3 separate regions of the Homo sapiens genome follow, and regions 2 and 3 are each linked to region 1. Evidence: promoter capture Hi-C in 16 types of primary human blood cells and fetal thymus (Javierre and others, 2016). All regions are on one chromosome and are shown on one strand. Each heading gives the region's core, a stretch centred on a gene start or on the middle of the fragment in contact. The rest is flanking DNA. Distances are from core to core; before and after follow the strand shown. Region 1 holds the start of PRG2 (proteoglycan 2, pro eosinophil major basic protein). Region 2 has its middle 12 kb from the start of MIR130AHG. Region 3 overlaps UBE2L6 (ubiquitin conjugating enzyme E2 L6).

Evidence for each region. The method cuts DNA at HindIII sites, captures the fragments that hold promoters and counts their contacts. A CHiCAGO score of 5 or more calls a contact.
Region 2: a contact is called between a fragment that was not itself captured here and the fragment with the promoter of PRG2 in region 1, in 1 of 17 cell types (neutrophils). The highest score is 5.7, in neutrophils.
Region 3: a fragment that was not itself captured here is called in contact with the fragment with the promoter of PRG2 in region 1 in 1 of 17 cell types (M1 macrophages); the score reaches 6.6 in M1 macrophages.

The regions. Positions count from the first base shown.
Region 1 is chr11:57,388,618-57,392,752 of GRCh38, forward strand. It overlaps PRG2 (proteoglycan 2, pro eosinophil major basic protein), which reads right to left and starts at 2,033. Exons shown (of 6, transcript NM_002728.6): 1 at 1,979-2,033; 2 at 1,270-1,339; 3 at 393-700; 4 at 1-91. The coding sequence starts at 1,327. The HindIII fragment of the contact is 2,611 bases long and covers 396-3,006 here.
Region 2 is chr11:57,623,856-57,627,990 of GRCh38, forward strand. No RefSeq gene overlaps it. Among named protein-coding and RNA genes, the nearest start is that of MIR130AHG, 12 kb to the right of the region's middle. The HindIII fragment of the contact is 8,519 bases long and covers 1-4,135 here.
Region 3 is chr11:57,557,045-57,559,544 of GRCh38, forward strand. All of the region lies in intron 2 of UBE2L6 (ubiquitin conjugating enzyme E2 L6), which reads right to left. Among named protein-coding and RNA genes, the nearest start is that of UBE2L6, 9.4 kb to the right of the region's middle. The HindIII fragment of the contact is 1,153 bases long and covers 675-1,827 here.

The sequences.
Region 1 (4,135 bases), core at 783-3,282:
TGAGCGCGCTGACAGAACACTGGATTCGATAATTAATATTGAAGTTGTGGATGGAAACCAGGTTGCCCCTGTAGCACCTCCGGCAAGTAAACTACAGGGCAGGATAAAAGACAAAGAATGGAGCATCCTTCCTACATGAATTCACATGGGTCTTGAGTCCCCACAATTCATTCCCTCCCTCCCCTGCCACAACCATTTGAAGGTTGGAGACCAAAATGCAACTTCTGTTTGTAGGTGGCCCTCCCCTCTTACCCCAACACCTCTCTGAGGCTCAGGTTCTACTGACACCCCCAGGGCCCTCAATGGGAAAAAGAGCCAGTGATAGCAATGCTGGGGGCATATCCCACACCCGTTCCATGCTCCCACCTCAGCCTCAGCCATAGGCCACTCACCCAAGCTTGACTAAACGTCTGAAGACTTCTCACCAGGAGGTAGCGGCAGGTCTGGCACCCAGGGATGCCCACCACTTTTACTGTGTCCTCTTCCTCAGGACACGTAAGGTTTTTGTCCACCATATCTGGCACTGAGATAGACTCAACAGCCCCATCTTTCTTGGAGGCATCTTCACTTCCAGAGCCCCACTCCTCCTCTTCCTCCAGCTCCCTGCAAGGGGTCTCCTCCATCTCCTGCTCTGGTGTCTCCTCATCCTCAGGCAGCGTCTTAGCACCCAAAGGGGTCTCAAAGGTGGAAGTCTCAGACCCTGGCAGGGAGGATAGCTAAGTGTCCTTCCTTCACATCTCCCCTTGTTCCTCCCCAGAACCACAGACAGCTCACACCTTGCCCTGGGCATCAGAGTGCTCAACTCTGCCTGGGAAGGGGAACCTGGAACCCAGTCTCTATGAGGGGAACCCAAGCTGCCTGACAAGGTCAAGGTGGTTAAGAGCATGGACTTAGAGTCGGGCAGTCATGGGCTTGGGTACTGGTTCCATCATCCACCAGCTGTATTTCTGTGAAATGGGTATACAATACCACCTACTTCATGGCGATGCTAAGAGAGTTAAAGGAGAGAAGGCACTCAGTAAGCTCAAAGTAAGCATAATGGAGAAAGGACAAAATTGGGAATGTCACAGTAGAACCAAGACCACAGACATAACAGACGCCTTGAGAAATCCTTTCAACTCCTGGCCATAGAGTCCCCATCCCTTTAAGCACACAGAAATTCAGAAATAGAAGACGATCAAAGAAGGGGGTGGGTGTGTAACTCTGACCCCATCTACCATAGAAAGGGAAAAAACAGAGAAAGAAAGACTGAAGGCAAAAAACACTTACTTAGATGAAGAGCAGAAACTGCCCCAAATAGAAGAGCCAGAAGTAAGGGGAGTTTCATCTTGGCTTTATCCTGCAACGGAGAACACAGTTTGTCATTGACACACACAGACACACATGCACACACATCACAATCACACCATTAGGGGACCGTGGGAGTGAGGTGGAGAAAAAGAAGGCCTGAATAGAAATCAGGATGGGCCAGAAAAGCTCATGCCAAGCCCAGCTCCTGATGCTCCAGGATCCAGGACGCAAGGACCTCTTTCTAAACAGAACGCAGCAAACCCTGAGGGGTGGCTGAGGCTGGCTTTCCTTCAGGCCCGGAAGTAAAGAAGGGACTATTACGCTTATTTGTTTGTACTTAATGGGTCCCTCAGAGTCTATGACATAAAAAAGGCGGGAGAAGCAATGATTATTGGCTTTCCTAGGAACACATAGGACTTAGAAGGTATGTCCCCTCCTCAGAGTTCAAGAAGCCACCCACACCCTCCTCCATGTCTCCACCATCTCCTTTCCCCAGCCAAGGAGCACTTTCACATCCCGCAGAAGGAATGTGCAAGGCAGAGGATGAAGGCTGCCCCTGCTGACATCCTCATAACCTGAAAGCCACAGGTAGACGCCTGCCAGCCCTCCAGAAACTGTCAGCCACAGCCAGGGACCTCCTGGGAGAATAAACTGTCACCAGCTCCACCACAGCAGAGAAAGCACTCACCCACCCAGAGACCTTCCTGGGTCTTTAGATCTTCCCAAAGCCCAGGTCCTTCTTTGCTTCCTCTCACAAAGACTTCTTATATAGAGGCCTTGGAGGAACTTCCCCCAGGGAGAGAGAGTTTGCCTCTGTCAGAGGGAGATAGCAAGGCTGATAAGGACCATTTCATCACTTCCCTGGGGAGCCCACTCATTCATTCAGTGAAGATTTCTCTCCCGATACCCACTTCAGGAACCCAGGGGCCATCTGGAACAGCTCTGGGCAATGGTTCTTATCCTGGGCTACACTTCAGAATCGCCTTGGGTGCTTTTCCAAAATACATATCTCCCCTGTTTTACTGGTGTTTTGAACTGCCACAAACATTTTGAGAACAAATCTGTCCATACCTATTAAAATAAAAAAATGCACATTTGATCAGTTTCACTCTTTTGAGACTATCCTTTAGGCATAAATGCGCCTATAAGTAATAAAACTTTTACAGAGTTATGTTATTCCTTGACTATTTGTAGAAATGAAAACAATATTGATATCCATCAATCGGACACTGAGTAAAATGTGTCCTCTCTATTCTACAGAATGTTATATGGCTATGAAAAGAAGAGCTGGACCTGTATCTATAAACCTGAAGAGATGTTTCTGTGACATGAAGTGAAAAAAGGCAAGATACTGAGGAAAGTATTTAGTATGTGAATAGTTTTACAAGGAAAAAAAAAACCCCCGCATAGGTGCTTATCTGTGAGCATCCTTATGTGACCATTGATGGAGGGAATGCTAAAAGGAATCACACCAAATAGTTGACCTTGTTGCCTCCAGAAGCAGGGGAGGAGAGGGAAGAAAGCAGGAGACAGATTGTTGTTTATCTTCTTTTTATAACTTTGCATTTCTTCAGTGGTTATGGTAAATGCGTGCTGAATCTGTAATTTTGAGGCTGCCTTATTAAAGATTTTTAAAAATATGCAGATGCCCTGCCCAGAAACTTCTGCTTGGCTAATAGGTCTAGCGTGAAGGTCAGATGTCTGCATTTTTTTAAAAGCTTCCCAGCTGACTGTGATGGAAGATGGGTCTAGGAGTCACTGTCCTGAGGATCTTCAAGTACAGGAAATGTTCACGTATGTCTAACTTCTTTCCTTCTGAATCAGACCACTCAGTTGGCCAACCTACCAGCCTTCATTATGGTAACATTTACTGAACATTTTTAAATGCCATGCATGGCAAGTGGCTGGATGCAGTGGCTCATGCCTGTGATCCCAGCACTTTGGGAGGCTGAGGTGGGTGGATCTTTTGAGGTCAGGAGGTTGAGACCAGCCTGGTCAACATTGCAAAGCCTTGTCTCTACTAAAAATACAAAAATTAGTCAGGCATAGGGGTGGCTGCCTGTAATCCCAGCTACTTGGGAGTCTGAGGCAGGAGAATCACTTGAACCCAGGAAGTAGAGGTTGCAGTGAGCTGAGATTGCACCACTGCACTCCAGCTTGGGCGAGAGAGTGAGACTCCGTTTCAATCAATCATCAATCAACAAAATACTGTTCATGGCAAGTATTACCTCATTTAACCTGATTTTAAAAACCTAGTGAGGTAGGTGGTTGATACCCCATTTTCCAAGTGAGACAACCCAGGCTCTGTGTGGCTCCTGATCTCCCCGCAACACTGCCCTTATTGGATCGATGCCCTGTATACACCCTCTTGTAGCTCCAGGGGCTTGTCCTTATCAGTTAGTCATTTTACTTTTCTTGTGAGATTACTTGGTTAATGGATTAACATCTGTCTTCCTTCGTGATGGTGAAGGCTGCATCTCTTTACTCACCATTGTATCCTTGGTGCTTAGTACAGTGCCCGGCACATAGTAGGTACTTAATAAATATACATTGAAGTAATTAATGGTTAAGTAACGTACTCACGTAAACAACAGGGTTAGAATTCAAATCCAGTTCTTTCTGGCACCAAACTTCTCTCCCCTCCCATATGCCTGCTTGTGTGTCAAAAATGATGCTATCCAGGTGGAGATAAAATCAGAGTGAAGCATAGATCCTGTATTCAATTAGCTTACAACCTAATTTGTAAGATGAGTAAATTGAGGTCAAACAAAAGGAGAAGGGTTAAGACCAAGCTAGGAAACATCCTCTGCTAATTCAGAAGGAAGTCCATGCATAGTAAAACAGA
Region 2 (4,135 bases), core at 717-3,216, 240 kb after region 1:
CGTGCACACAGCTACTCTGTGGTCCCAGGTACTCAGGAGGCTGAGGTGGGAAGATCACCTGAGTCCTGGGAGGTGGAGATTGCAGTGAGCCGAGATCACATCACTGCACTCCAGCCTGGGCAACAGAGTGAGACCCTGTCTCAAAAAATAAATAAATAAAAAGAACCAAAGTCTATATTAGTCCCAGAGTAGACTAATATAGTAGACCAAATACCATTCCCAAGGGCTATGGGTTAGGGGCTTAGCAGAAAATGCATGGCAACAGGACCACCAGGGTGAGGATGGTTCCTGTCCATGGACCACGATGGTGTGGTCATGGTCACAGTGAGCCTGTCTGCCGGCTGGCTTCAGGGAGCAGCATCAGAGCCGATTCCTACTCTGCTGCTACAGCCAGACTGTCAGGCCTGGAGCCCCAGTCCCTGGCCATCTAGCTCTGCTTCATCAGAACTGAGTTTCCTGGCGATTCCTCTGGGGCCCAGAGTGAACCTCACTAGAACACTTGCCCTCTTGCTGAAATAATTTTTAAAATCTCCTAGGAGGCAGGGACCGTATCTTTTTGTCATTATCCTCTGTTCTGAGCATGGAGCCTGGAACCTACAGAGTTGACACTCAGTACATATTAGCTAAAATAAAATGAAGCAAAACAAAACAGAACAAAAATGCATTTCCAGATCCTATTTATTTATTTATTTATTTATTTATTTATTTATTGAGACAGAGTTTCGCTCTGTTGCCCAGACTGGAGTGCAGTGGCACGATCTTAGCTCACTGCAACCTCTGGCCTCCTGGGTTCAAGTGATTCTCTTGCCTCAGCCTCCCAAGTAGCTGGGATTAGAGGCACACGCCACCACGCCCGACTAATTTTTGCATTTTTAGTAGAGACAGGGTTTCACCACGTTGGCCAGGCTGGTCTCGAACTCCTGACCTCAAGTGATCTGCCCGCCTTGGCCTCCCAAAGTGCTGGGATTACAGGCATGAGCCACCAGCCTGGTCTCTACAGATCCTGTTCATTTAAATGCTGCCATTCTTCTAAGCCCAGTGCAATTCTCCAACAGTGTTTTCTGCTTTTCCCAGCCAATAGCACCTCCTCCATCTTTAGACATAGTGCTGAACTTACACTGCCATGTAAAATCAGTAGCATGTACACAAATATTTGGCTTTCCCCTCCAACCACTAGGAAACTCCTTGTGAATCTGATTCAGGACATCTCTGGTCCCACCTATGCCTATAAATGGTCAGCAAACACTTTTGATTCAAAGTGTGCAGTGTCTATATTTGAGCAAAGTTTTGTTTTGTTTTGTTTCGTTTTGTTTAGAGACAAAGTTTTGCACTTGTTGCCCAGGCTGGAGTTGGCACAATCTTGGCTCACTGCAAGCTCCGCCTCCTGGGTTCAAGCAATTCTCCTGCCTCTGCCTCCCAAGTAGCTGGGATTACAGGCACCTGCCACCATGCCCGGCTAATTTTTTGTATTTTTAGTAGAGATGGGGTTTCACTACGTTGGCCAGGCTGCTCTCAAACTCCTGACCTCAGATGATCCACCCGCCTCAGCCTCCCAAAGTGCTGGGATTACAAGTGTGAGCCACCGCACATGGCCAAGCAAAGTTTTTTATTTTACAATGATGACATTAATGTTATTCTTATTTTATGTATCTCCTCTGGAGACTGGTGGAGCTAGGAATACCAAAGCATAGCTTCTCATAGTCATTATCAGCTAGGGTTTTGCCTTACAAATTATCTTTCAACTAGAGGAATTATACCTCTGTGTTTGGATGTTCTTTCCTCCTCCCTGCTGCCCCGTGTCTTTGATTCTTGGGATCAGGACTCCATGGCTTTAGTCAGAAGGGGTGAAGATGATTCTTACCCTTTAAGTAAGTAAGCACCTGGAGTCTGGAATTGTTCTAGGATTAAACAAGGCCACAGCCCTGTGAATTGCCTTATCTACTCAAATAGGCCGTCTAAAGAGAATCTATACTTTGTTATCGTCCTAGAGGCCTTCTTGCTTTCCACTAATTTATACATATTATCTACTGGCCAGGTGCGGTGGCTCACGCCTGTAATCCCAGAACTTTGGGAGGCCAAGGCGGGTGGATCACCTGAGGTCATGTGTTCAAGACCAGCCTGGCCAACATGGAGAAAGCCCATCCCTACTAAAAATACAAATATTAGTCAGGTGTGGTGGTGCACACCTGTAATCCCAGCTACTCAAGAGGCTGAAGCAGGAGAATCGCTAGAACCTGGGAGGCCAAGGTTGCAGTGAGCCGAGGTTTCCATTGGTTACTTGGTGTACGCCTTATGTAAATGAAGAGGATGAAGGAAAGTTACAAAGTCATTTACTCTGTGTACACCCTATGTAAACAAGAGGATATTTCCTGTCACAGCTGAAGTGTTTCCATTTGATTTAGTTCTAGAAAGTCCTTAGGTTCTCTGCCTCCAGGCCCTATTCTCCTGCCTCAATCATAGATCACTGCAGCCTTGAGGTCCTGGGCTCAAGCTCAGGTCCCACCTCAGCTTCCTGAGTAGCTGGGACCACAGGCCCGCACCACCATGCCCAGCTATTTTAATTTTTTTTTTTTTGAGATGGAATCTTGCTCTGTCGCCCAGGTTGGAGTGCAGTGTTGCGATCTCGGCTCACTGCAACCTCCGCCTCCTGGATTCAAGCAATTCTCTTGCCTCAGCCTCCCGAATAGCTGGGACTACAGGCGCCCACCACCACGCCCAGCTAATTTTCGTATTTTTAGTAGAGACGGGGTTTCACCATATTGGCCAGGCTGGTCTCGAACTCCTAACCTTATGATCCGCACGCCTCAGCCTCCTAAAGTCCTATTTTTTTTTTTTAAGAGGCCAGGTGTGGTGGCTCACACCTGTAATCCCAGCACTTTGGGAGGCCAAGGCGGGTGGATCCTCTGAGGTCAGGACTTCTGCCATTTTCCCATTCATTTATTCAAGTTTTAATTGAGTACTTACTTGTGCTAGGCACTGTTGTGGCAGCGGACAAACTGTTCAACAAGACAGAGCTCTTGTTCTCTGAACTTTAATGGACTGGTAATGTCTCCCTTCACTTCTCTCCATGTGATATGAAGTGTCCCAGTGTGTGTAGGGGATGTGGGAAAACAATTGAAATGTGGGGAAAATTTTGAAATGTGGCCGTGGAAGACTGATTTTCTCTTGCCTAAGATTTCCTTAGAATGTCCACTTTGGAGTAATGTGGGAGACAGTCCTGCCCTGGCTTATCTTGGGGTTTGGGATTAGGTCAGGGCTACATTATGAAATCAGTAAATTCTCCTAAGAATCCACAAACCAGACTAGTTCTTTCAGTTTCTCCAGGGTCCAAAGAGCTGTAGCTACCAAAAAGAGATCCCTGGCACTAATTAACTGGCAAATGTGGTAAGTTCACCACTGAGGACCTACATTTTCTAAACTAAAATCATGGCACAAGGTCTCAGAAGTCTCCATATTTATGGGATCCGCTAAAACTGAAAATTTTGAATCAAAGCTCTCCCCAAATATATTTGGAGAATAGAACATTGTAGTTATATTCACTAGGCTCATGACCCTAAAACCCTCTGGCTGGCTGGAAATTAGTCATGTCTAGCAGTCAATCAACGATTTTTCTAGCTAGGCCAAGGGTTCAGATTACTCCTCCTGAGAAACTTTCATTTGATCTGGGGAAATGTAAAAAGGAAAAATGAAAGGGCACAATCTCTGCTCTCAGGGAGCATCTTGGTCTGATGAGGAATTAGACACAAAATAATCATAACAGCACAGGTGGTAGGTGCAGCTAGACAGGCAACTCGGAATAAGTTTGGAAGGCCTTGAGTTCCATGCTAAGAAGTTTGGAATGTATCCTCTTGAAGAAGTTCTGACCTGGAGGAGATTAGAGCGTGTGTTGGGGGCAGTGGTATGTGAATGAACTCCAGAGGGTTCACGATCCCCTTGAGATGTATACCTGTATTAGTCCATTCTCACATTGCCATAAAGAACTACATAAGACTCGGTAATTTATGAAGAAAAGAGGTTTAATTGACTCACAGTTTTACAGGCTTAACAGGAAGCATGACTGTGAGGCCTTAGTTAATGTACAATGATGGCAGAAGTCGAAGGGGAAACAAGCTCCTTCTTCACATGGTGGCAGGAG
Region 3 (2,500 bases), core at 1-2,500, 170 kb after region 1:
CTCCAGAGTGAGACTCTGTCACCAAAAAAAAAAAAAAGGAAAGAAAAGAAAAGAATTTGATCCCCAATGTTGGAGGTGGGGCCTACCAGGAGGCGTATGGGTCCTGGGGGCAGACCTCCCACGAATGGCTCCGTGGAATGGCTCCGTGCCAACCTCACAGTCATAAGAGAGTTCTTACTCTATTACTTACTGAAAAAGCTGGTTGTTTAGAAGATCCTGGCACCTGCTCGCTCTCTCTCTCTTTCACTTCTTCTCTTGCATGTGATCTGTACACGTGGCTCCCCTTTGCCTTCCACCATGAGTGGAAGCTTCCTGAGGCCTCATCAGAAGGAGATGCTGGTGCCATGCTTCTTTTTTTTTTTTTTTTTGAGATGGAGTTTCACTTTGCTGCCCAGGCTGGAGTGCAATGGCGTGATCTCGGCTCACCGCAACCTCTGCCTCCTAGGTTCAAGCGATTCTCCTGCCTCAGCCTCCCAACTAGTTGGGATTATAGGCATGCACCACCACACCCAGCTAATTTTGTATTTTTGGTAGAGACAGGGTTTCTCCATGTTGGTCAGGCTGGTCTTGAACTTCTGACCTCAGGTGATCCGCCCTCCTCGGCCTCCCAAAGACATGGGATTATAGACGTGAGCCACCATGCCCAGCGCCATGCTTCTTGTACAGCCTGCAGAAGCTTGAGCCAAATTAACCTCTTTTCTTTATATATTACTCAGCCTCGGGTATTCCTTTACAGCAACACTAATGGACTAAGACAGGGGTATCAGTGTGTCCTGCCTGAAGGGGCTTCTTTCTGGGCTTCGTAGGACTTAACAGAGGAAGGAGGTAGCAGAGTCATGGAGCTGAGAGCTCCGGGGACCTGTCCCAGCTCTGCCTCGGGCTTGCTGTATGACTGAGCTTTCTCTGAGGATCAGTTTCCTCGTCTGTAAAATGGAGAAGCTGGACCAGAGGATTCCATGCTGTATCTTACAGTCAGTTGAGAAAGTCCCACTACCTTCTAAGTTCTAGGTTAAATAAAGGATTTTGCTACTTTATTTTGTTTTGTTTTTTTGAGACAGAGTTTTGCTCTTGTCATCCAGGCTGGAGTGCGATGGCCCAATCTCAGCTCACTACAACCTCCAACTCCCGGGTTCAAGTGATTCTCGTGCCTCAGCCTCCTGAGTAGCTGGGATTATAGGTGCCCACAACCATGCCCAGCTAATTTTTGTATTTTTACTAGAGACAGGGTTTCACCATGTTGGCCAGGCTGGTCTCAAACTTCTGACCTCCAGTGATCCACCCACCTCAGCCTCTCAAAGTGCTGGGATTACAGGTGTAAGCCACCGTGCCCGGCCTGCTACTTTTTAAAAAATTTTGAAAACTATTCATTTTTCATGGAGTGGTTAAAAGAGAAGACCCTGGAGTCCGCTGAATTCCACTCCTGCCACCTTATTCTGAGTGACCCCAGACCAGTTACTTAACCTCCTTGGTTTCCATCTCTGCAATTTTAAGAGGAAGACAACCTTCCTCACTGGATGGTTGAGAGGATTCAATATGACCTCATATGTCGTGTGCTTAAAACAGCACTTGGTCCACAGGAAACTCTCAAGGAATGAGAATTTTACTATTAGCTTCGAAAGACTCATCGAGCTGAATCCTTCCATGACCAAGATGTGACAAGTGGGGCCACTTTGGTGAACACATAAACTGAGACTGAGCCTTTGAGGAGGAATTTGTGTGCTATTCCAAAAGACCTTTCCTGGTTCTCCTTCCTCTGCCAGTCAACCATCCCCTCCTTTATGGCCTCACCAGGCACCTTCAGGCCCCCTTAGCTGATGACTTACATCAAGCTTTGGTCCTCCAGCTCTGGGATTCCTCCCAAGTATCATGTTTCTTCAGGACTCCTATATGGCTGGAAGGTCTGTGGCCAGTTCCTGGGGCGCACTTAACCACCTTGGTCTTGCCAACTATTGAGGTCCTCTGATTTCATAGTACTCTGCCAAACGAGACCTTTCCTAGGTTTTCCTATCACCCCTGCTTTCATCATCTCAAAGTTGGTCTCCTTGGAGATATAATCAGTCCCTGGAGCTCCTTTGAGCATCTTCTCCCGGCACCTGAGGCCTAGAACAGGTGTCCTCACTCTAAGCCAGGTAAGTGGATCGTTTCAACACAGTAACCCAAGGGACTTGACAGAGGTTCCCATGTTGACCTGACTCAGGCCTTTCTCTACTTTTCTGGACTATAGGTCAGTTTAAAGAGAAGACGACACAACCTAGGCCACTGCATTGTCAATAAAAAGTAAATCCTGCCGGGTGTGGTGGCTCCACCTGTAATCCCAGCACTTTAGGAGGCCGAGGTGGGCAGATCACTTGAGGCCAGGAGTTTGAGACCAGCCTGGCCAACATAGCAAAATCCTGTCTCCACTAAAAACACAAAAATTAGCCAGGCATAGTGGCACGTGCCTGTAGTCACAGCTACTCAGGAGGCTGAGGCAGGAGAATCGCTTGAACCCCAGAGTGGA